Linked DNA regions of Homo sapiens: regions 2, 3, 4, 5, 6 and 7 are each linked to region 1. Evidence: promoter capture Hi-C in 16 types of primary human blood cells and fetal thymus (Javierre and others, 2016). All regions are on one chromosome and are shown on one strand. Each heading gives the region's core, a stretch centred on a gene start or on the middle of the fragment in contact. The rest is flanking DNA. Distances are from core to core; before and after follow the strand shown.

Region 1 (2,688 bases), core at 101-2,600:
TGTGTTTCTGAGAAAGCAAAGAGAGGGGGGATACTTAGAGGGAATTTGGCAGCACTTTCCCCTGGGCAAGAGCCTCCTCTTTGGAGGTAACAAGCCCTGAGAGTCTCAGATGCATGCTGAACCACCACACTGCAGGAAGGGGTCAGATGGGCTGAAAAGAATCAGCGATGACCTCGACTGTCAACATCCCCAGCATAAGCACAGAGCTGGGTACCTGGGGGCAGGTGAATTGGCAAAGGATTTAAAGGCCCTGATCCCAGCGGTTCCTAATGCATCACCCACATTGACAACTCAGAGAAAGGCACAGTTGGTGGATGAGTCTAGAGTTTGTAGGTAGAGAACAGGGCCCTCCACCCAATCCAGACCTGTGTCATTGAGACTGGGATGGGATGCAGTTTTGTGGTCTTGAGACCATGTCATCCCTCTCTTCCTGAATACTACCCCCTTCCCTAGGGGGCAGTGGTGACATGGGACAGAATAAATTCACCTCATACACATTTGTTCCTGGGGCTGTGGCAACGCAGTGAAAGGGCCTGCCACCTTACTTGAAGTCCCGGGCAACTAGCAGTATCCAGAAGAGAAGACCTTTTTCAGGGACTGGAGGTCTGTTTCCCTCTTGGGGAAATGCTAACTTCCAACCTCAGTGCTGGTAACTTACCACTGTGCTGGCCTCTGCCCCACCTGCCCTCTAACAGGACAGTGAGAGTCCCTCTTAGGGTTAACCAGGTGGGTTGTTTTTTGTTTTGTTTTTGTTTTCCCCATCTTCAGTTTGGAGTGAAAGTTAGGAAGGCTGTGCAGTAGTGATGAGAGGAGGGCATGATTTTAGCATGACCTTTTCCTCCTCTCCCTTTATGCTTTACAATGAAAAGCTCAGGAACCTTCTCCCCACACAGTCGGATCTCCGGAGGCATCTGCAGGGATCCCAACAGTGTCGGGCTCTGCAGTCGGACTCTGCAGGGATCCGAACAGGGTCGCTGAGACCAGTGCACGAGCCTCTTCGGAAGATGCATCCTGGACTCTTGGCCGCAGAGGAGAAAGCGGTTGGGGTCTCCCAGGGACTCTTTCTAAAGGGTCAGTCCAGCATGGTAGGGGTTAACGTGGGTCCACGCGTAGAGGGAAAGGAAAGAAGTTGTAGTTGACACTTCAGGGGGGCGGGTGGCGGACGGGTCTCGCTGCCTGATTGGTTTTGCATTTCATCCCAATTTTTTTTTCTCCACTCTCTCTCCCTCTTTTCAGTTTCTCTCTCTGATCCCAGGGGAGGGGAAACGGGAATAGTGAGAGATCAAAAATAAACCTCTTATGTCAAGCCGGGAAGGAAGTATAAATAAGAAGGGCTCGGCAGCCCACTCGGTGCTTCCCGGGGTGGGGAGGAGGCAGGAGGCGGCTGCGCGGGGCTGGCGCGGGCAGGGGCGGAGGACGGGCGCACGCGGGCCGGGGCCAGCTGCTCGCGCTCGGCTCGGGGGCGGCGGCGCGGGAGGAGCGGGCTGCGCCAGCCAGAGGGGCCGCCGGGGGAGCGCTCCCGCCGCCGGGCCCCGCGGGCCGAGTCGGCCTTGCACCCGATTGATTCCGCTTTTCCTGGAGAGAGCGGCCGGGCCGCGCTCGGGCCGCCAGCACCTGCCCGCGCCTGGCGGGCTTCTTCCCTCTCCTGCGCGCAGCCACCGCCGCAGCCCCCATGCTCCCCGCCCCCGCCGCCCCCCGGTGGCCTCCGCTCCTGCTGCTGCTGCTGCTGCTGCTGCCGCTGGCCCGCGGCGCCCCGGCCCGGCCCGCAGCCGGGGGGCAGGCCTCGGAGCTGGTGGTGCCCACGCGGTTGCCCGGCAGCGCGGGCGAGCTCGCGCTCCACCTGTCCGCCTTCGGCAAGGGCTTCGTGCTGCGCCTGGCGCCCGACGACAGCTTCCTAGCGCCCGAGTTCAAGATCGAGCGCCTCGGGGGCTCCGGCCGGGCGACCGGGGGCGAGCGGGGGCTGCGCGGCTGCTTCTTCTCCGGCACCGTGAATGGGGAGCCCGAGTCGCTGGCGGCGGTCAGCCTGTGCCGCGGGCTGAGCGGCTCCTTCCTGCTGGACGGCGAGGAGTTCACCATCCAGCCGCAGGGCGCGGGGGGCTCCCTGGCTCAGCCGCACCGCCTGCAGCGCTGGGGTCCCGCCGGAGCCCGCCCCCTCCCGCGAGGACCCGAGTGGGAGGTGGAGACGGGAGAGGGTCAGAGGCAGGAGAGAGGAGACCACCAGGAGGACAGCGAGGAGGAGAGCCAAGAAGAGGAGGCAGAAGGCGCTAGCGAGCCGCCACCGCCCCTGGGGGCCACGAGTAGGACCAAGCGGTTTGTGTCTGAGGCGCGCTTCGTGGAGACGCTGCTGGTGGCCGATGCGTCCATGGCTGCCTTCTACGGGGCCGACCTGCAGGTAGGACTGAGAGCCTCCTCCAGCCGCCGTGCCCGGAGGCCCCCCAGACGCCTCCCAGCGTCTCTAAAATCTCCCCTTCCAATCCCTCTGAGAAAAAAAAAAAAAAAAAAAAAAAGCCCTCCCCACTCATCTTCTCCAGCCTTACCCCAAACGAGATTCTCTCCTGTCTGAGAAAGAGCAGTAACTCTTTTCTGAACTTCTGCCACCCTGGATCCCTGCGCCCCCACCCCCAGGTCCCTTCCAGTTTAGAGTGGGGCTGCCGACGCCCATCCCTCTCATCCGAATCTCCCGCGGCA
Region 2 (2,688 bases), core at 66-2,565, 510 kb before region 1:
TTTCAGGCATACAAAAGGTAAAAGTTTTTATTTCCAACAGAGCTGAGCTATAAAAAACATTCAGGAAGTCCTTTAGGCAGAAAGAAAATTATATCAGAAAGAAATGTGGATCCACACAAAGAAATTAAGAGCCTCTAGACATGGCAACCACATGGATAAATATAAAATCTATTTTTATTATTTGAATCTCTTTAAAGCAGAAAATAATAATAAATATATTCTAGGGCTCAGAAGATATGCTGACATTAAATGTAGAACGACAATATAACAACAGCCAAAAATAGAGAAATCCATAGATACTGTTATAATTCTCTTAAACTCTATGTAAAGTGGTATGACATTACATGATAGGAGATGTTATTTAGTTAAATATATATACTATAAACTCTAAAACTACACTAATAAATTATAGCAAATGAAGCAACACAGGAGACAATCTGGTATAGTTAAAATGCTCACAATCCAAGAAAATGAAACAGAAAACAAAGCATAGATGGAAAAAATGAAAAATAAATAGCAAGATGGCAGATTTAAAATCATCATATATGATTATAATAAATGTTAGTGGTTTAAACATCCTAATTAAAAGGCAGAGGTTGACATATTTGATTTAAAAAAGCAAGAACTAACTATAAACTACCTATGAAAACCCACTTTAGATATATTAACACAAATGTGTTAAGAGTAAATACATGGAACACTGCATAACATTCTAACACTAATCAAGAAAAAAAGCTGGAACACAATTTGAAAGGAGCACCATTAGGCAATTTTGGAGCAGGGCACCCAAGAGAATAATGGCACAAAATTGAAAATGAGGGACTTCTTCTCAACTCATTCTATAAGGATAGCATTACTCTGATTTCCAAACAAAAGACATTACAAGAAAAAAAAATAAAACACACACACACACACACACACACACACACACATATATACAATTGGTCTTCAACTTACAATGATTCAACTTACCATTTTTTTACTTTAAAATGGTGCCAATTTATGATGGGGTTATGTCCAGATAAACCAACCATAACCTGAAAACATCACATTGAAAATATACTTTTGAGGCCGGGTGCAGTGGCTCACGCCTGTAATCCCAGCACTTTGGGAGGCCGAGGTGGGTGGATCACAAGGTCAGGAGATCGAGACCATCCTGGCTAACACAGTGAAACCCCGTCTCTACTAAAAATACAAAAAATTAGCCAGATGTGGTGGTGGGCCCCTGTAGTCCCAGCTACTGGGGAGGCTGAGGCAGGAGAATAGTGTGAACCTGGGAGGCAGCGCTTGCAGTGAGCCGAGATCACGCCACTGCACTCCAGCCTGGGTGACAGAGCGAGATTCTGTCTCAAAAAAAAAATACACTTTTGACTTCATATTTTCAATTTATTATGGTTTTATTGGAACATAACCCCGTATCTTAAGTCAAGGAACGTGTGTGTGTGTGTGTGTGTGTGTCTGTGTGTGTATACACAAGATGAGGTATATACACACACACACATAATGAGGTTATAGCCATCCCTCATAAACACAAATGAAAGAAAATTATTTAAATTGTGGCCAATTAAATCTAGTAATATATTAAAAAAGGATAATACATTGTGACTGAAGGAGCCTTATCCCAAGAATCCAAGGTGGGGCTTGCACTGCAACATTAATCAATGTAATTCACCATATCAACAGACCATATGATTATCTCAATAGATGTAGAAAAAGTATTTAATGATGCTATGGTTAGTTTTATGCATCAATTTGGCTAGGTTATAGCACTCAGTTATTTAATCAAACACTAATCTAGGTGTCGCTGTGAAGGTATTTTGTAGATGCAGTTAGCATCTACAATCAACTGACTTTAGATAAAGGAGACTACCCTTGAAAATGCAGTTGCATCTCATCCACAGTCTTGAAAGACCTTAAGAACTTTGAAAGGTTTTCTGGAGAAGAAGAAATTCTGCCTCAAGACTGCAGCATCAACTCCTACCTAAGGCCTGCCCTACAGATTTCAAACTTGCCAGCCCCAAAACTCTGTGACATATTTCCTTCAATAAATCTCTAGACAGGTAGACAGATAATTTATATGTAAAAATATTTATCGACTTCTTTAGTCTCAACTACTCAAGAGGCTGAGATGGGAGGGAGGATCACTTGAGGCCAGCAGGTGGAGGTTGCAGTGAGCTGTGATACCACCACTGCACTCCATCCCGGATGACAGAGTGAGATTCTGTCTCAGATACATATACACACACACACACACATCAATTTTATATATTTATAGGTATTTTATATATTTGTTTTTATAAAAGTAATATTTTATATATAATATTACTGTCCTGTTTCATATATATAATAAAACATATATGTTTATATATGTGTATATATAAAAACATGTTTATATATGTTATATATATGACAGGACAGTAATATTTTATATATATAAACAGGATAGTAATATATATACATATATAAAACAGGACAGTAATATTATATATATAATATTATGTATGTATGTACATACATACTTACATCCTCCATCTCCTGGAGGCCTTTGACCTACCCAGTTCTCTTCCCCTTTTTTGCTTGTAGTTATCAAAAATGACTTTCAAGTGTGTTGAGAATGCAAGAACATGAGCTAAAAAAGAATTTGCCAGAACAGCCTGGGCTGTTCCTTTCCCTCCTAGAATAGGACGT
Region 3 (2,688 bases), core at 89-2,588, 450 kb before region 1:
TATACCAAATCCCTGAATATACAGCCATTTACAACTTAAGAAAGGCATAGTGAGTGATAATAAAGTGTGTCTTAGAAATTGAATTACAGCTTAAAAAATTTAGAGATTGTATTGTGTGAGGGCAGTGGCAGTTGTGGTGGTGATTTTTTTGGTTTGCTCTTTATCATGTTTTCCTTCCAGATTGGCGTGCTCATCATTTTTAACGAGACACCATCGCTCAGAAGTTCTGTGAACAAGAAAGATTTGTTGCACTTGGTCTTCTACACAGGCTGCCTGGGACTAGGAAATAAGACCATGCTGAGCCCAAAGGCCTAGGATAAAGCCTCTGTTTGCTGACAGGGGGAAGGGTGGGCAGAACGTAGGCAAGAGGAGAATCCAGGAAAGAGAGCAAATGTTTAAACCATGCGTGGTGCAAGTGTGTGGTTTGTGTCTTTTATCTTCAGAGTGTGGAGAAGAATAAGGAAAGCTGGCACTCTGCAGCTCCCAGGGACTAGAAGTCACTTTCCAAACTCTGTCCCTCTTTGTAGGCCTGGAGGGAGTTTATTTCTGCCAGTTTGTGAAAGTCCTGTTTCTTATATTCCTGGGCCTGACTTTTTCCAGGGCCTCCTGTTGGCCAGTTCTGTGCCTTGTATGTACAGTGCTTGACAGTGTCTTTGTCTCATCAGCAGCTGATACTTACTCAGAGATGGCACTCCTTTTCTTCGGTGAGTTGTGCTTATTAGCTTCCACAAATTTATTTGACTCATAGACTCATCTTCATCATCAGGTGCTTATTTTTACTTTTCCTACTTTTATGTCTCTCCCCAACATTTCCATTTAGAGTCTGAAAAGCTGTCTTATAGATTTGTATAAGTTTATAAATTTATATTTTGCCACATGATAAAATTCATTTTGCATCCCACACATGTACATGAGACACTTAATCACCATGCAAGAGAACAAGGAGGATATCCTTGTCCTAATGCCATGTGAGGTCCTGTCCCCATCAGATAAATTAATGTTCATTCAAAAGAATGTAACTCTTGCTTTGTAAGACATGCCAGAAGATGGCTGAGGTACCTAGGCTTGCTGGCATGTTACAACATGTTCAGTCTAGGAAGGATCATGTGGCTAAAGATTTTAGTTTGCAAGACTTTGCCCCTCTCCCTCAAGACAGTTAGATGAGACCCTAAGACACATCATTCTCCTCAGCAAAAATTGCAGAAGTATACATGGCTTGAGGTGAAGAAAGGAGACCTTGGGTCACTTAATCCCCTGCAGAGAAGCCGATCAGGTCATTGCAGCCACCTCCCTCTAGTGACCCTCTTACATAAACAGGAACAGGAATTCTTGCTACTGGATTCCTTTCATCAGGCATCTTAGGCTCACTGAATGAAAAGCCCTATAAAAAGGAGATGCGGCCCTAATAATAACAAATACGATCGTGTTGGCTATTTTGGACAAGAACAGCTTTGTGCCACTCTTGATCTCCATCGATGGCTGCCATTCTTGCCCTGCTATTACCTTACACACTTCCTATTCTTAGAATCAGTTGTGAGCCTTGGGCTTGGGGGATTGCAGCCCTCATGGCTGGAATGCCCAGCTTGAGTGGAATGCAGACTGTCTGGCAGAGTGGAGGTTAAATAAAGTTTGCCTTGGCAGCCCCCTCTGCTCTTGGATGAGTGACAAGTGACTCGAGTATAGGAGCGAGGAGTGATGGCATGAGCTGCCATGTGGTGCAGGATCAAACGAGTCTTCCGTGCATGAATAGAAGTGGTTGATTGTCCATCCATGACCCACACAGCTATGTCAGTCTTAAATGAGGTGGGTGAAGGGGAGGCCTCAACAGCCTTGAACCTCACTTCTGACCATATCACTTTGAAAAAAATTCAGGAACAGATCAAGAATAACGTTGAACCACTTTCTAGGTTTCCAGCTGAACTCCAGATTTGGTATATCTTCCCCCTCATTTTTGACTCATTTTTGAAAGTAAGATAAAGGGAAAATTTTGACTCATTTTCGAAAGTAAGACAAAGGGAAAATTTTTCATTGAAATAAGAACAGTTATCAGTCAGTCAACCATTTCTTGAGCACCAAGCACGGCGGGGAGTTTTTTTAAAGTACAAGACACAGAACTCTTACAGCTTATAATTTAGTTGAAGAAGTAAAGCTATAAACACCTTTAAAAAGATGCATATTCCAAAGTAATTGTTCCAGAGCTACCTGCCAAAGGAGGTCTATGGAGAAGGAGAGCACTTCCAGCTGTGATGGTCAAGGATTTCATGGAGGAAGTAGGGTTGAAACAGGTCTTGCCAGAAGGGCAGACTTGAGACTTGCTCTTCAGGCAAGGCGAGAAGAGGCCCTTGTTAGTGAGAGAACTATTATGAACAAAGGGCAGATGTAGGAAATCCCTAAGACAGTCATGAGGACCAGAAGATATGGCTGGGGAGGTAGAGAGAGGAATTTGTTTAAAGATCGCTAAGTCCGTAGCTGTGAAGTCTGTGTGTACATGTTACCAAGAAGGTTATAATGCTTCCCATCAGAGGAGAGCTAGAAAGATAATAGGTGCAGCCTTGCCAGAGGAGAGTTGGGAAGGTATAGGTGCAGGCTCACCCAGAGACGGAGGCCCTTTTAGTGTTCTGTTCTGTAAAACTTCTTGTACGGTAGATGGCACATAGTGAACGCTCCATAAATAACACGATTCTTATT
Region 4 (2,688 bases), core at 95-2,594, 410 kb before region 1:
ATGCCTCTGAACTCAGAAAAGGAATTTTTATTTCAATAAAATAACTTAAGACACACTCAAAATCCTTGGAAATGATTGTCCTCTAACTCATTAGGATTTCTCTGCTTGCTTCTGTGACTTTTCTATTAAGCCGAAAGATTCTAACTGTTCTTTCTCTTCAGGTAAAATGTTTAGGTTTAAAGATTCCCCATGTCTGTCTTAGCATGTGAGCATCTCTGCCTCTAGGCATATTTTTTAAATCTATGAAGAAAACATAATGTTTCATGCTTTAAGGGTTTATTCAAACCCTTCATCTAGTTTCTTCTAATCAAAGCTATGAGTTCCTGGTAATTTAAGCTCAGGAAACGCACAAACACATCCCTAGATTTTCTTCCTTCTAGAATAAGGATCAGCAGACTTTTTCTGTAAAGGACCAGATAGTAAATATTTTAGGCTTTGCGGGTCATATGGTCTCTATCACAACTACTCAACTCTGCCCTGTAGAATGAAAGCCACTGTAGAAAATACATAAACAAATGGACATGGCTGTGTTCCAATAAAACTTATTTACAAAAACTAGCAGTGGGCCCTAGTTTACCCACCCCTCTTCTAGATAATGAAGGAGAAGAGGAGGAGGATATTGATGACCAACTACAACTCACGTTCATTGCTTTCTCTGTGAAAAATACTGAGGTAGGTATTCTATAAGTATTATCTCACTTAATCACCAAACTTCCATAGATTAGGTACAGTTATTAAACCCACTTTATAACTGAAGAAACTTAGCTTTTACATAGGCTAAACCATTTTCCCAGTCGAATAACTAGTAAATGGTGGAGCCAGAACTCACATCTGACAGCAAAGCTCACGCTAAGCTATGCCATGAAGCAAACACATTCGTTGAATGACCCAAGCCTTTGGGTCAACTTGTTTAAGAAACCACTTAAAAACACAATGGGAAAGCTTAGTAAAGTCTCAGCCTTCAAATTCAATAGGAAAATTGAACATAATTTTAATTTTCTTAATCCACATAGAGTTTGGGTCATTGAAATATTTAGTTGAACAAACATTTATTATGCCTTTATGAGCTCCACCCTGCAATAGTGATTTGAGGAACATGAAAATAATAGAATTTAGCCGCCTTAATTCAGACACACTTGAAGTCTGTATGCGGGAGGGACTTTTCCTCCCCTTTCTTCTCTTACAGTTCATCTTGGTTTGAGAAAGCAGGCACACAGCTGGCATTGTTTAAGGAAGGCAACAAAATTTATTTGAAATTGTCCACAGCCACAAATGTCTTTGCCTTTCCAGCCTCCTATGATTAATATTTTCACATGGATTTTTTTGTTCCTTTTATGATAGCGCTGTAAGCAATTCCTAGGGAATTTCAAGTGATCTTACAAAAGTCTTCTCCCAAGATTTAAAGCCCCAAGTCCTCATATAATCTTTCCCAGGACATCTTTTAGCCAAGATGTTTACCAGTGAGTATCCCACTCAAAGAAGCATCCCAGTCTGTCTAATCAGTGCCTGTGGCTGTCTTAAAACACAGCTTCACCCCTCAACCCCTCTCCTTTCACATGTCTACACTTCTACAATTGCAGGGTCTCTCTGTGTTCTAGGGGGATGGGTTAGAAAATTGGGCATGTTTGTAATAAGCAAGTGTACTTAAACAGTACAGAATCACATAAAGGAAAAGTGAAAGTTCCTACTCTCATACAGCTAACAACCCATAATAGTTTTTACCTCTATCAGTTCCAGAAAAGCTTCCCTCAGCTATCATCCATGAAATTTCTTCTCTTTACCCACTCTTCTTACCCCACATAAAATGCCTTTTTAATTTCCTTCCCTTCCAAGTATATCTGCTTAATTGTTATTATGCCTCATTTGCACTAAGTCCAAATGGAAACCAGCCTATGGTGGTGGGATTTGGTGTTGTTTTCCCCAAGGTCAAACCTCACACAGCTGTTCAGACTGAGCCCTCTCCAGCTCCCAGCAGCTGCCCAACGTTTATGTTATGTTAGAGATGTTCTCTAGTTGCAGAGCCCAGAGAGCTTGCTGTTCAGCCAAGAGAAATCCTCAGGGAAAAGAGTCAGAATGAATGGTTGCACGTTATGTGCAGGGTTGCTGGGCACTTCCTTTGTGTTGCATTTCCCACACGTAAACTAATGCAAACCAGTGCAGATTAACCACTTGGACCCACAGCTTTTTGGAAAACCTTGAGTTCTTGCTTCCTCAACATATAGAAGGTTACCCTGAAAAGCCCAAGAATATACTAAGGACTGCTCTGTGGGATTGAAATATATATCTCTGGTTAATAACCACTGGGAAGCTAAGAAAACAAGGTGGTGGGGGGCCAACTTGTGTAACTGCAGTGGCTTGGAAAAGCATGGAATTCAGTTCTATATTATTATGGCGTGACTATTCTTTATAAATAGATGAAATTTGACAAGGAAAAAGTAGAGAAGGGAAATAGGAGAAAAAGAAAAGATGAGATTCTACATTTACACTGTTGAGTTCTGTTTGGTAGAGCACCTCATCTATACTTATGAGGCTGTCACCTGACTGCCATTCTATGGACATCTTGACTCTTCCCAACACACATCAGCATCCCCAGTTGCCACGGAGTATCACTTTAGCCAGCTCCCACACACCCTTGACCAGTGGCAGACTCCACTACTGCCCCACCTGCAGTGTAATACCTCAGAGACA
Region 5 (2,688 bases), core at 75-2,574, 390 kb before region 1:
CCTCCCTGTGTCCCCTTTGCTAATGTCCATTGGCCAAAACAAGCCACATGGTCAAGCCCAAGATTCAAAACATAGAAAAATAGAGTCTACCTTTTGGTGGGGAGAGATGCCATATCACATGCAAAGAGACCTCAGAGGAATGAGAAAAATGTATAGGTATAGCCTTCTTTTTTTTTCTTTCTTTTTTTTTTTCAGTAAGTCATGATCAGAGAAAGCTTTACAGAAAGGAAGGGGCTTGAAAGATGGCTAGAGCTGGGACATGTGACAGATTTCCCATACATGGAGAGAAAGCCCGCAGAGGCAAGATAGCTGAGGGGTTTGCAAGGCCCAGCAAATGCTTCCTCTGGGCTAGTGGAAGGTTGGGAAAGTAAGTTGGAACACAATCATGGAGGAGATGGAGTGTTGTCTTTAAGAACTTGGATGGTCTCCAATGGCCTTCTAAGAGGTTGACCTCCACTTTAGGGGCACAGCCCTCCCAAGAGAACATGCTCCACCTGCAGCTGTGCCTGTTTCCTCCTGTTTCTGCAGTGCCACCACCACTGACTCAACAGTCAAAGGACCTACGGTAGCCAGTCTACAGGCTTCCAAAGACCTACTATGGCCTGTCCTGAAAAGCTGAGCTGAGAGAGATAAGCTGGGAAGAGGAATCTGGGAGATGGAGGCATGAACAGCAGAGGTGAAGGTGAAGGGCACATTGAGGTTCAGTGACAAACAGGGCATCCAAAACCCTGTTCAAACTGGACATGTGGGAGCTGAGGGTGAGGAGGTCAGCTGGCAGAGAGCAGAGAAGGAGCAGATGAAAAGAGAGAAGCAGACACAGAGAGAAGATAGGTCCCTGGAGCAGCCTCAGATCCTAAGGATTTCCCCATCCAGGCTGAGATTTAAGGGTAATTCTCTTTCTCCTCAGGTTTTGAATGGCCTTGTCCCTGCATCAGGTGATAGATGGGTCTGCCCCCTGCATCAGATGATTGGTGATTCTGCCCCCTGCATCAGGTGATTGATAGGTGGTTCTGTCCTCTGCATCTAGTGGTGGATGATTGTGTTGCATTTCATGTGAAGGGTGATTCTGTCCCTGTTTCAGATGATGGACAGTCCTGTCTCCTGCACCAGGTGATGAATGGTTCTGTCCCCTTCATCAGGTTATGTAGAGTTCCCCGCATCAGAGATGGGAGATTCTCTCCCTTGCATCCCTGGGTAGAACAATGGCTGGAATAAAGTCTTGAAAAGGACAGGGAGACCATGGATGGAAGTATATCTTGCCAGGAAGCAAAGTGAGGCAGAGCCTCAAATGTAGTGGGCATTCAGGGGAGGAGTTGTTCTTAAGATGAGCTGTTCTTTCTCTACCTCTTCTAGCAATTAGACATACCATAAAGTGGAGACTGAAGCCATCATATTTGCAGACAAATGCTTTGATTTGGTAAAGTCTTGAGAGCTTAAAAGTGTTATTTTGAAGTCTATGTATTTCTTCAGTTATCATTTCTTTCAAATATTTTATCAGTTCTCACTCTGGTTATTAAAAGCCAGAAGCCATCCCATTCTGCAGTATTTCTTTGGGGAGCATTTACAAAGTGCATCTCAGCAGTGGCACAGGAAAATATATTTCCCTGGAAACCAGAAGTCACACAATAGTCCTGCCCTCCAGAGCCCCATGGGATGGAGAAATCCCCATTATAATTAAAATCTGATTATTCTGCTTTTATGTCGCCTCCGTTGCTGTAAGTGAGAGCTGGTCTAGCTGCCAGAGCACAGAACGACACAGATACAATGTGATGTGTCAACCACTCATGTTTCTTTTTTATGAGATCAACATTTATAACTCTGCAGTCAGCCCACTGACAGACTGTAAAACTTGCCTTATTGGAAGCAGACACATCAACCACAAGGCACCACTTGTTGAAGGCTGATTCCAGTCTTCCCTGGGTATGAGTTCATCCTTAGAGAGAAAGCCACTGGGACTGGCAGTGTCCTGAGTTTCATCTAGAAACGTTCATGCGCCTGTCTTGGATCCCCTCGACATTGCTCCTTGTGAGAAACACCCACGCAGCAGCGTCCTATCACCACTTGCATATGTATGAGTTAGGCACCACAGCCTGATTTCTTATGAAATATACTTCAGCAGAATTCAGGCCCCATGAATGCAGTCGAGTCTTACCCTCAACAGTATTTTCTAAAGCTACCTATTGCTCACTACCTGGGTACAATATACCCATGTAACAATATCGGCCATTGGCCAAAACAAGCCACATGGTCAAGCCCGAGATTCAAAGCATAGAGAAATAGAGTCTATGTTTTGGTGGGGAGAGATGCAATGTCACATGCAAAGAGACCTCAGAGGAATGAGAAAGATGTATAGGTATAGCCTTCTTTTTTTTTTTTTTTTTTTTTTTTTTTTTTTTTTTTTTTTTCAATATGTCAGGATCAGAGAAAGCTTTACAGAAAGGAAGGGGCTTGAAAGATGGCTAGGGCTGGGACATGTGGCAGATTTCCCATACATGGAGAGAAAACCCGCAGAGGCAAGATAGCCGAGGGGTAATGCTACCTATTACTACTATGCTCACTACCTGGGTACAATATACCCATGTAACAAACCTGCACATGCACCCCCTGTATCTAAAATAAAAGTTGAATTTTTTTAAAAGAGTAAAAACCATGAACCCTTAAAAAAAAACATAGGGGTAAATTTTAATA
Region 6 (2,688 bases), core at 107-2,606, 360 kb before region 1:
AATTGAGCAGATAAGAACAGAATAACACAGCCAACCTACTGAATCTAATTGATATTTATAGAATACTCACCCAGCAACAGCAGAATATTGATTTTCAAGTGCCATAAAACACTCACCAGGACAGGCACTATTCTGGATTATAAATTTAAAATAACAAATTGGAAAGAACTGAAATCATACAAAGAATGTTCTCAGATCATAATGGAACTAACTAGAAACCAACAATACAAGGCAACAGGAAAAACCTCCAAATACTTGGAAATGTAAAAATGACTTCCAAGTAATTCATGGGTCAAAAGAGGACATCTAAAAATGATGTCAGAAACATGGCAGAGTAGAAGGTCCCAATTCTATTGCCCCCATAAAAATGATGATTAAACAACTACCTACTCACTAAAATATCTCTAAGAGAGCTCTGGAATATAACAACAAAAAAGCCACAGCAAACCACTGGAGTACAAAAACTGAGCGTGGGCCGGGTGTGGTGGCTCACGCCTGTAATCCCACCACTTTGGGAGGCCAAGGCAGGCAAATCACGAGGTCAGGAGTTTGAGACCATCCTGGCCAACATGGTGAAACCCCGTCTCTACTAAATATACAAAAATTAGCTGGGCGTGGTGGCTGGTGCCTGTAGTCCCAGCTACTCGGGAGGCTGAGGCAGGAGAATCGCTTCAACCTGGGAGGTGGAGGTTGCAGTGAGCTGAGATCATGGCAGCCCGGGTGATAGTGCAAGACCCCATCAAAAAAAAATAAAATCAAATCAAATAAAAAAAAATAAAACTGAGCGTGGCCACATCAAAAAGCATAGAAAACATTTTACTTATATCATCTCATCCCCCAGTTCAACACAGCTCAGCACCAAAAGAGATTCCTTCAGTCATGACCTTCCCCATGAGGGAAAAGAAGAGCAAGAGGAGCCCAGCAGCCTTCCCCAACAAGGACCCCAGAAGCCCTCACCACCACTGTGGACACCCACAGCTTTTTTTTTTTTTTTTGAGACGGAGTCTCGCTCTGCTGCCAGGCTGGAGTGCAGTGAAGCAATCTCGGGTCACTGCAACCTCTGCCTCCCAGGTTCAAGTGATTCTCCTGCCTCAGCCTCCCGAGTAGCTGGGACTACAGGCTCGTGCCACCATGCCTGGCTAATTTTTGTAGTTTTTTTAGTAGAGACAGAGTTTCACTATGTTGGCCAGGCTGGTCTCAAACTCCTGACCCCATGATCTGCCCACCTCAGCCTCCCAAAGTGCTGGGATTACAGGCGTGAGCCACCGTGCCCAGCCCACACCCACAGTTTTTGCCACCAAGGATCTCTGCATTCTTTGCTGACAGTGAAACCAGCTGATGGATTTGCCCAGAGTCCATACCACTACTCCCCCTCCAGGGAATGAGGTGCCACTGCCCCCTACCCCATGTTCCCAGGGCTGAATCCACCCCCTAACCCCAGCACCACCGCACACATGCCCTGACCTTGGAACCAAGAGATATCCCCTCAGCCATGACTTCCCCCTAGAGGGGGAAAGAGAATAGGAGGACCACAGCACCCTTCATGATTGAGTACTCAAGCAGCCCTCACCACCACTAAAATACCTACAGCCTTGGCCTCACTGACACCAATCTTAGCTGATGAAGTTGACCAGAGTCTATGCTATCACACCCCTCAAAGCAGGAGGTGACCCTACAACCACCCCCTGAACCAGAGCTGCCATGCTTCACGCAGCTCGTGCCTTCACACCCATCCACAGAAGAATGTCTTTTCCCACCAAAGCCAGTCTATAAAGTCTAGGACAGGTGACTGCTCCTTCAAATGCACAGACAGATGCAAGACTACAAGGAACACAAAAATCAAGAAAACATAATACCATGAAAGGAATACAATAATTTTCAGTTACAAATTCCAAAGAAATAGAAATCTACAAATTGCCTGACAAAGGATTTAAGATAAATGTTTTCAAAGAAATTCAGCAAGCTAAAAGAGAACACAGATAGACAACTCAACAAAATCAGAAAAAAAAAATGCATGAACAAAATGAAAACTTCACCAAAGAGAAATAATAGAAAAGAACTAAACAGAAATTCTGGAGCTCAGCAATACAATGAATGAAATGAAAAATGTGATAGAGAGCCTCAACAGCAGACTTAAGCAGAAGAACTAATCTGCAAACTCAAAATTAAGAAGGTGCTGTCACTCCCAGTTGCCAAGTCAAGCCCCGTCGAAGGAAAAGCATGCATAGAACCAAGCACAGCCAAAATTTCTTTCCCAGGATCAGCACCTCCTTCTGAGGCTGCAGACAAAGACTGTCAAGGGACCCCATTACTCCCTGTTGAAGTCTCAGAGCTCATGGGTGTAGCTTCTTTGGTGTCAGGGGCTCTGGATGCTAAGCCAGTAGAGAATCCTGAAGATCCTAGCCAACGGATTAATAAAAACTGGAAGAAGGCAATTGTGACATGGCAGGAACAAACTGAGAGAATATTTATATTTTGAAGTAGATGGATCCAAACAAAGAAATGTGAATAAGATCAAGGAGTTTGGCTAGGGGTCTGAGAGACACTGTCAGACCAACCTGCATTTGAAATGGGCCAGTGTCTGAGTCATGACAACATAAAGGTAAAGGTGCCCTGAATGTGCCCCTAGTCCCTGGGTCTGCTCTCGTCACCTCTTGTCACTTCAGGAAGCAACAGCCAGGAGTGAAA
Region 7 (2,688 bases), core at 81-2,580, 260 kb before region 1:
CCTGTAATCCCAGCACTTTGGGAGGCCGAGGCGGGCGGATCATGAAGTCGGGAGATCGAGACCATCCTGGCTAACACGGTGAAACCCCGTCTCTACTAAAAAATACAAAAAAATTAGCCAGGTGTGTTGGCGGGCACCTGTAATCCCAGCTACTGAGGAGGCTGAGACAGGAGAATGGCGTGAACCCGGGAGGCGGAGTTTGCAGTGAGCCAAGATTGCGCCACTGCACTCCAGCCTGGGCAAGACTCCGTCACAAAAAAAAAAAAAAGAAAAAGAAAGTGACTTTTGGTTACTGTGCTCACTACCTGGGTGATGGGATCATTTGTACCCCAGACCTCAGTGCCACGCAATATCCCCTTGCAACAAACCTGCACATGTACCCTCTGAATCTAAAACAAAAGTTGAAATTATTTTAAATAGTTCTGTTCTTAAATATATTCTGTCTGCAACAGACATTTATCAAGTACTTCCTGTTTTCCAGCATTTGACTTTAACTGGGGGCCCACATAAAAAATTTCTGATCTTTGGAACAAATGTATTGATTCTAGAAAAATCTTGTCCCTTATTCATTAATTTATCAACTCTTTATTAAAAATTCTAAGATGTGAGCTCAGTTGCAACACTTCACTTTGGTCTAGTGTTCCTCAGTTCCAAGACCACTCTCTTTCCCCACCTTACATTACCTACCACCTTTATTATTTAGGAATAATATTTAAACCAATGCATTTTTTATTTTCCTTAAATGATTGTTCTCTTAAGCTTCCCACCTATAGAACCAATTGCTTTTGAAGAGAGGCAAGTATCTATCTACTAGAACAAAGATGCAATGAGCATCAAAGATAACTTTCTTGGGTTCTCAGCTGGACAACAGACTTTGTTGAAAGAAGAAAGATACTCTCTAAATTCTGAACACTCCCTGTAAGTATCAGAAACCATATGTGGTCAGCTTGGATCATAGAGAATTACAAAATACCTTAATGCGCAGACCACACAGGCATCTGGACAGTTTGCTCCATGGGTTCTTTCTGTCAGGAGACCAATGCCTACCCAAGTCTTGGCCTCAGGGTGGGGCAGGCAAAAGAATACTGGCGGTGGATGGACCGAGTGGGAAGCTGAAAGCAAAAGGAGCTTGAGCCCCATTTCCAACTGGGACTCCAGGATGTGAAGGCCTCACTGCCCCAAGACATACATAGTTAAATGGCAGCATGATGTGTGGGTTTAGAAAGGGACAGATGGACTGAGATAGCCCCCTTTCCTTTTCCTCTACCATTTCCTTTCTCTTTTCCTCATGATTCTCCACACCTATGCCTGCTGGCTAGGGAGATATTCAGAATTTCTGGTGAGCTCCAAGAGAAAATATGTGATTTATCTACCCTCAAGGCTTCTCTTATTCAGACCCTTCTATAACTACCTCAAGTTTCCCGAATTATTCCTTATTTTTCATGATTTTTTCAACAGTCACCATCCCTCTCCCTTTGACCAGAATCTGGCTGGCAATGCCTCTCTCTATATAGACTCGAATATAATTTTTAGATGGGGTACTAGCCCCATGTACAATGGGTCTGCCATTTCACCTGCTCTTGTCACTACTGCTTGTAATGCAACCTAAGAATTCAAGCTCTATTTTCTTCATTATTTCACAATGTGGGTTTATCTTAAGTGTGCAGTCAACCAAATTTCAAACCAGGTCTTTACCACATGATACTTATGTAAACTGATTTTTTCTTTAAACCAAGTCGGGACTTGACATTTTACCAGTTGAATTTCATCTTATTGATTTTGGCCCTTAATTCCAGTCTTTTGAGGTTATTTTGAAATACTACTCAGTTCTGGCCATCTCTTATTCAACATTTTTATCAGCTAATTATATGAAGACATATAAGATATACGTATCAAGCTTGTGGGTAACACAGGAAGTCCTATATCCCTGGAGGCCTCCCTTTGGAATGACTCTAAAGCATTAATCAGCACATAAAAGAACAAGAGAATACCTCCCTTACTAAAGCACAACACAAAACTTGCCAAGCTTTTTGGAGAAAAGCTCCAGAAATATGTCTGGCTAAGCACTCAGACTGCCTTAACTTCAGTTCAGAGCACTGGGGTCAAGTCAGACAGACCTGTACTGGGGTGGCAGTTGCGGGAGAGTTACTTCATTTTTCTAAGCCTCAATTTTCTTATTTGAAAGTGAAAATCATGAAAGTAAGCACCTAATAATTCACCTATGACTACATAATAACTCCTGCATATCCAAGACGTTCTCATATCCCCACACCCAAAACACACTGAGATTCATTCCATCTGGAGAGATCCGCCACACATACACACAGGGAGGCACCTTCACTTACTACTGGCCTGAAGTCCAACAGTGCTTCCACTGTTCATTGATCAAAATATACCCATAAGAATTAGCCTACTCATGGTAATAGGAATTTTTATTCTTCTTGGCTGTGGTGTTTGACCATTATAAATTCATTAACTACACTCTAAACTTTTCATCTTATTGCCAAAGATACAATAAGGCATACTCAGACTAACTCCTTGCTAAATTCTACATGTAACACCTCTAATGCATTCCCAGATTGACACTGACTTCCTATATTAGTATTCACTTGTCTCAATATCCCCAAGCAGTAGTGTCTTTGAAGCCAATGTGTTGGACTTGGTCAATGAATAGTCAGTGTCTTGTAC

What was found. The method cuts DNA at HindIII sites, captures the fragments that hold promoters and counts their contacts. A CHiCAGO score of 5 or more calls a contact.
Region 2: a contact is called between a fragment that was not itself captured here and the fragment with the promoter of ADAMTS8 in region 1, in 2 of 17 cell types (naive CD8 T cells and naive B cells). The highest score is 5.6, in naive CD8 T cells.
Region 3: a contact is called between a fragment that was not itself captured here and the fragment with the promoter of ADAMTS8 in region 1, in 16 of 17 cell types (naive CD8 T cells, naive B cells, fetal thymus and 13 more). The highest score is 22.8, in naive CD8 T cells.
Region 4: a contact is called between a fragment that was not itself captured here and the fragment with the promoter of ADAMTS8 in region 1, in 16 of 17 cell types (M2 macrophages, endothelial precursors, M1 macrophages and 13 more). The highest score is 36.4, in M2 macrophages.
Region 5: a fragment that was not itself captured here is called in contact with the fragment with the promoter of ADAMTS8 in region 1 in 5 of 17 cell types (M1 macrophages, M0 macrophages, endothelial precursors and 2 more); the score reaches 14.3 in M1 macrophages.
Region 6: a contact is called between a fragment that was not itself captured here and the fragment with the promoter of ADAMTS8 in region 1, in 3 of 17 cell types (M2 macrophages, M1 macrophages and endothelial precursors). The highest score is 7.4, in M2 macrophages.
Region 7: a contact is called between a fragment that was not itself captured here and the fragment with the promoter of ADAMTS8 in region 1, in 3 of 17 cell types (M2 macrophages, endothelial precursors and M1 macrophages). The highest score is 5.3, in M2 macrophages.

Annotation. Positions count from the first base shown.
Region 1 is chr11:130,427,271-130,429,958 of GRCh38, reverse strand. It overlaps ADAMTS8 (ADAM metallopeptidase with thrombospondin type 1 motif 8), which reads left to right and starts at 1,350. Exons shown (of 9, transcript NM_007037.6): 1 at 1,350-2,392. The coding sequence starts at 1,673. The HindIII fragment of the contact is 10,262 bases long and covers 1-2,688 here.
Region 2 is chr11:130,933,820-130,936,507 of GRCh38, reverse strand. No RefSeq gene overlaps it. Among named protein-coding and RNA genes, the nearest start is that of SNX19, 19 kb to the right of the region's middle. The HindIII fragment of the contact is 3,143 bases long and covers 1-2,688 here.
Region 3 is chr11:130,881,326-130,884,013 of GRCh38, reverse strand. The region is part of intron 8 of SNX19 (sorting nexin 19); the gene reads left to right. Among named protein-coding and RNA genes, the nearest start is that of LINC02551, 21 kb to the right of the region's middle. The HindIII fragment of the contact is 3,697 bases long and covers 1-2,688 here.
Region 4 is chr11:130,839,478-130,842,165 of GRCh38, reverse strand. No RefSeq gene overlaps it. Among named protein-coding and RNA genes, the nearest start is that of LINC02551, 21 kb to the left of the region's middle. The HindIII fragment of the contact is 800 bases long and covers 945-1,744 here.
Region 5 is chr11:130,818,960-130,821,647 of GRCh38, reverse strand. No RefSeq gene overlaps it. Among named protein-coding and RNA genes, the nearest start is that of LINC02551, 42 kb to the left of the region's middle. The HindIII fragment of the contact is 2,213 bases long and covers 218-2,430 here.
Region 6 is chr11:130,790,349-130,793,036 of GRCh38, reverse strand. It overlaps the pseudogene PPP1R10P1. Among named protein-coding and RNA genes, the nearest start is that of LINC02551, 70 kb to the left of the region's middle. The HindIII fragment of the contact is 5,949 bases long and covers 1-2,688 here.
Region 7 is chr11:130,688,679-130,691,366 of GRCh38, reverse strand. The region is part of intron 1 of LINC02873 (long intergenic non-protein coding RNA 2873); the gene reads right to left. Among named protein-coding and RNA genes, the nearest start is that of LINC02873, 17 kb to the right of the region's middle. The HindIII fragment of the contact is 1,138 bases long and covers 762-1,899 here.